2 separate regions of the Homo sapiens genome follow, and region 1 is linked to region 2. The links are contacts of gene promoters, found by promoter capture Hi-C in human tissues and cell types (Jung and others, 2019). All regions are on one chromosome and are shown on one strand. The core of a region is centred on a gene start or on the middle of the fragment in contact, and the rest is flanking DNA. Distances in the headings are between cores, read along the strand shown.

Region 1 (2,818 bases), core at 204-2,703, 770 kb before region 2:
TAGAAATCCCATACAACTTTGGAATATATATTAGTATTATTCACCAAAATATAACCTAAAGAAGATTGAACACCATTTTGGCAATCCCATGTAACTAAATATGTCAAATAATCCTGTTTACCTCTCTTTTGGATACTCCAGGGGCCCTCTGTAGCATCCAAATGTCAGGCATCAGGAAAGACAATTTTGAAACTGAAGTTTGATTTTAGGAAGTCTGTTAAAATATGTTAGAAGTTTAAAACACTTGATGTTATGAAATAGAATTCCAGATTACCATGTTACTTATTTTGCCAAAATGATGACTCAGAAGTTTAAAAAACAAAAACCTTTTATAACCCTAACAAATTTTGCTAAAGAGAATATTAGTGCCTTAAGAGTACCTTGCTGTGCTTTTATTTCAATGCTCAATTTACAGAAAAATCATATAATACCCTTTTGAATTTAGTCAATATATTCACACATGGAATTTTTGCAAGATTAATTTTTACAATCCTTCCATTATTTGTTTAAACCTTCAGCTTTATCTTATCTAATTCAAAAATCATCCTTTAACCCTAGGCAAGGATTTACATTTCCATGCTTTTGTACAATCTTTTACTAAAAACACATCTTACTGTTCTTATGCACCTCACATGTAAATCTATTTCCAGTACTTTCAATTTCATGTTATAATGGTCATTCTTAGCGATTTTTAACTTTAATGCAAAACCTAGTAATTTAATTATGTGCTGGGTGCAGCCAAGGTTTGACTGCTTCCAGCATAATTAAGGGCATGGTTAATTCCATATGTTCCCAGGCCTTACCAATTGTGAAGCAGGCAAGTCAAACAGTTCTCAAAAACCAAAAAGGCAGTTTATAACCTTAAAACATTTAGCAAACTTAGTATCTGACCTGCATAATTTAGTTCACCTATTTACATTTTGAGGACATCTGCATTTCACCAATAATTTTTAAGGCTGTTTTTATTTCTCAAAGATTAAAGTCATGTGAACTAAAAGGTACCACAGCTTTTATTTTCCCTTTAAAAAATATTTGATCCAAGCACTGTTGGGAACAAGCCCCCCAAAATCTGGCCATAAACTGGCCCCAAAACTGTCCATAAACAAAATCTCTGCAGCACTGTGACATGTTCATGATGGCCATAAAGCCCATGCTGGAAGATCGTGAGTTTATGGGAATGAGTGCAAGGAACACCTGGCCCGCCCAGGGTGGAAAACAGCTTAAAGGCATTCTTAAGTGACAAACAATAGCACGAGTGATCTGTGCCTTAAGGACATGCTCCTGCTGCAGTTAGCTAGCCCAACCTATTCCTTTAATTTGGCCCATCCCTTCGTTTCCCATAAGGGATACTTTTAGTTAATTTAATATCTATAGAAACAATGCTAATGACTGGTTTGCTGTTAATAAATATGTGGGTAAATCTTTGTTCGGGGCTCTCAGCTCTGAAGGCTGTGAGACCCCTGATTTCCCACTTCACACCTCTATATTTCTTTGTGTGTGTCTTTAATTCTTCTAGCGCTGCTGGGTTAGGGTCTCCCCGACCGAGCTGGTCTCGGCAAAGCACTGATCTTCCTTTAGGCCAATTAATTAGAGGTCTTTTTATAGACATTACACACACGATGCATATATAATGAGAGTAGCAAGAGAAAATGGAGAAAAAGAATTTAGTCAACTGAGAAAAAACCCGTTTCCAGCAAAACAAGATCCAAGAAAAGAAAAACATAAAGGCCTTTTAAATATACCTATAACTAGGATATCCACTTTTAATTAAGCTGAGCACTCTTTAAGAAAATCCCTTTAACTCCCTTATTACCTGACTTTAGCCCTGCCAAGTGGCCAATATTTCTGGCTTTCAAATCTTACTGAAAGTAACCTTGCAGGTGAAACCAACAAGCCTCAATTAAGACTATGATTTAACCGTGAGTATATGAGGTATTTTCAAACGGGGTAAGCAGTTCTCACAAAATTTAGAACCTTTAAAGATGACCCAGAGAAAGGAAGATTTAAGAAAAAGCCTAGACGTTGTTCATGGAGAAGAAGAGAGTCAGCAAATGGCAAAAGTCACACAGGTATCAACCTTAAAGTACTGAGTCTCTAAGCCAGGATTGAACCCCGGCTACACTGTAAAATGGCAGAGGCTAAACAAAGCATTGCCACGTGGTTACAGGCCAGCTTCCAAGGGCATAAAGCAAGATGGAAGCCTTCAGCAAAGTTTGCTACAGACAATTCACATAGGCGTGCAAAGCACACCAGATTGGCTACACCTTAAGACCAACCTCACAAATCCTTTTTCATAATCAAAACTTTGCAGAGACTATAAACAGTGATCCTTCTCATTCCTGGCCTAGTAAAACATCTTCGAAAAGGAAGAAAAAAACAAAAAAAAAACCCCTCTCACTTAAAAGTGTACTGCTGACAGTGTAGAGAAAAGGAAAAAAAAAGTTTAAAGTGCAGAGTTGGAAAGATGCCTGGGGGAAGAACCTCTTATTCTTATACAAACGGGTTCCTAGCCCTGGCCGGGAGCAAGGCAGGGGAGTCCCCGTTTGCCCATTCATCCCTCGAGCCTGCAGCCATTGGGGTGGGCTCCTGCACAGCTTCCTCTACCTCAGAAGAAGTCTGAGGACAAAAAGGCTTAGAAGTGAAAGGGAAAAAGAATTTTTGGTTCACATCTTACCCCTCCTCAAGCCCCACGTCTGGGCGCCAAAATGTTGCAGAACTTTGCTCCTTAGTTCAACTAAAACTGGATTCTTGTCACACGACCAGAAAAATTTAGGCACGCGGACACATGGAAGGGTGAGTAGAGCAGGATTTTATTGGG
Region 2 (2,700 bases), core at 138-2,637:
TTCTGGGCAAGATCCAATAACCCTCCCTTGGGGTCTGGATCGGGACCCCTTTTCCAGCAACAATATTGTTTCTTGAACTCGGTGGTTATGCAAGTGTGTCCACATTTTAATCATTCATTGAAATGTACATGTACACTTGTGATTTCTGCACACCCGCTTCAATTTTACAAATTTTATGCTCACAACCCATTGGGAGAGGTATATATACAGGGAAATAACTATGGATCCGTTTGGTAAACAAATGTAGAACTCAACTATCCTGCACTCTTGAAGCAGCTGACTCCAGTGCCGCAGGGGGCTACCTGCATGCCAATTCCACACCCAATAATCTTGGGCAGGTTACCAAAGTGTGAAGACCCTGACTGAAAAATGGGAGTAATAATACAACTACCTGATATTGTTGCAAGGATTTAATATAACTTATGTAAAGTGGGCAGAAGTGCTCCGCAGGCACAGAGCAGGTGCTCAATAAATGCCAGGACCAAAATACCACGAAACTGTAATTTTTATAAGGAAAAGGATCTTTTCTTCAGTGCTCAACGAGGAAATATTATGGGGCCGTGCGCAATAGCTGACGCCTGTAATCCCAACGCTTTGGAAAGACTAAGCGGGAGGATCGCTTAAGCTCAGGAGTTCGAGGCTAGCCCGGGGAACATAGCGAGATCCCTTCTCTACAAAAAAAATTTTTTTTAATTAGCTAGCGTTGCGCGGTGGCCGTATGGTGGCCAATGAGGTTTATCCGAAGCGCGATTATTGCTAATTGAAAACTTTTCGCAATACCCCACCGTGACGACTTGCAATATAGTCGACATCGGCAATTTTTAACAGTCTCTACGGAGACTATTTCAGTAAAAATAAATAAATATGGTGCGCGCCTGTAGTCCCCCCTACTGGCTGGCGCGGGAGGATCGCTTGAGCCCAAGATTTCCAGCCTGAGCGACAGAGCAAGACACCTTACCTAGAAAAAAAGAAAAAATAAATATTTTGGGTGAAATATCCAGGGCCGGCCTCCTTGGAGAGGGCGCTCTCACGAAGGAGCGTGGCCCGAGGTGCTGGGACGCGGGAAAGACGTCTTTCTGGACCGGTGCTGGGACGCGGGAAAGACGTCTTCCTGGACCGGTGAATTTCCAGCTCCACAGACTCCGGCCGCGCGCACACCAGCCCAGCTCCACTTTCTGCCGCCCGCGTCCCCTTTAAGACGGAGCCATGACATCATCCCAGACACTGCGCAGCCTACCTTGGCAACGCCGCGACCACTTTTTTCCGGACGACCTCAATTGGCTGGCCAGCCTCCGGAGGCCCCGCCCCCTTCGCGCAGCCAGCCCCGGGCACCTGCTGTCAATCGGGCCAGGTGGGAGCGATGATTGGCCGCCGGGCCCGCCCTCCAGAAAGCCCCGCGGGGCTCGCGTAGGCTGCAGGCTCGGGGAGGGAGGGCAGCGGCGCCGCGTCGGGAGCCGCCGCCGTCCCGGTCCTCCCGCCCGCCCGCCCATCCGGTGCCTCCTGCAGCCCGCCTGCTGGGCAGGGCCGGCGCGGCCCGGCCATGGAGTCCTACGACATCATCGCCAACCAGCCTGTGGTCATCGACAACGTGAGGCCCGGCAGCCAGGGGGAGGGCGGGCGCCCCGCCCCCGGGGGCGCACGCGGCGGCGCAGGGAGAGACCCCCGCCCGCCTCGGCGCGTCCTCCGCTCACTGCGTGGCCGTCGCCCCCGCCGGGCCGCTGGCTTCGCCCCGGGGGCGCGCGCCCTCTTGGCCTTGTAAGGCCGGCCATGGGGCGAGCCCCCTCGCCCGCGTCGCAGAGCCTCTTCCCCGACCCCTCCCCGAGTCGGGCGGGGAAGTTCAGGAGAGCTTGAGTGACAGCCGGGCGGCCGGGCGGGGACGCGCCCCGGACTCTTCTCAGTTGAGAGTGCGGTTCCTGGGCAGGTTTCCACACCAGTTCCTTTCCGCGTCCTTCGGCCCTGGCTCTGGCTGCCTGGCGGAGGTGGGGTAGCATTTGTCATTTGCACACTGCTGGCTTTATCTTTGGGGCTGCACCCCGAGGCAACAAATGCAGGATGCTCTGTCACCCACATGTCCACCACCATCTGGTTTGCCTTTTGGCTACTTTGACTTTCTCCTTAAATGCTTCCTGTGCTGAGCAAACATTCCACAGCCAGCAGAGCAATGGAGAGTTCATGGCCACTCTTCCCAGTATCAGCAAGCAATTTGGGGTGATCGTTTGGAAGCCTCAGAGGAAAGATGTCATCAGGCTTCCTGTGGCTTTGTCCTTCAGCAGTGGGGCTCGGCTTGCTTTCACCTGCCTTAGGAAGATTTCTGGCTTCCGAGCTCTGATATGGGGAGAAGATAAGGGCTGGGATCTTTGAGTCTGCCCCTAGCTGGGTATGTGCGTCCGGTGTGCGGGCCTTGGAGTTTTTGGTAATGACTCACTTGTGCTCTTTCTGGGATCTGTCTCCCTCCCACATGACCCCGTGGGGTCCCTGAATGACTGTTTTAGAGTACCCATGTGGGTTCCCTGAGTCACAGCAGGGGATGTTTAATAAGGAGGTTAGCACTGAGCTTGGGGACGTGCTGTCACACCAGCAGGACGCTGCAGGAAGGAGCAGGCTACTTCCTTTCTTGACGTGCAAATAACTCGTATAGGCTAATCAACAGGCTTATAAGTTAAAAGGGCTACCGCTCGGCCCCTTGGGGATTCCATCCCC

The links. Contacts are between HindIII fragments. The study calls those that stand out against the background at their distance.
Region 1: a contact is called between a fragment that was not itself captured here and the fragment with the promoter of ACTR1B in region 2, in 1 of the 25 tissues and cell types used here (hippocampus).

The regions. Positions count from the first base shown.
Region 1 is chr2:98,429,833-98,432,650 of GRCh38, reverse strand. No RefSeq gene overlaps it. Among named protein-coding and RNA genes, the nearest start is that of INPP4A, 14 kb to the left of the region's middle. The HindIII fragment of the contact is 4,356 bases long and covers 1-2,818 here.
Region 2 is chr2:97,662,731-97,665,430 of GRCh38, reverse strand. It overlaps ACTR1B (actin related protein 1B), which reads left to right and starts at 1,387. Exons shown (of 11, transcript NM_005735.4): 1 at 1,387-1,588. The coding sequence starts at 1,541. It overlaps LOC124900516 (U4 spliceosomal RNA), which reads left to right and starts at 700; the gene lies at 700-840. It also overlaps a transcript of C2orf92 not described here and the pseudogene RNU4-8P. RefSeq lists enhancers at 869-1,208, 2,249-2,318, 2,284-2,700 and silencers at 1,289-1,748, 1,829-1,888. The HindIII fragment of the contact is 10,185 bases long and covers 1-2,700 here.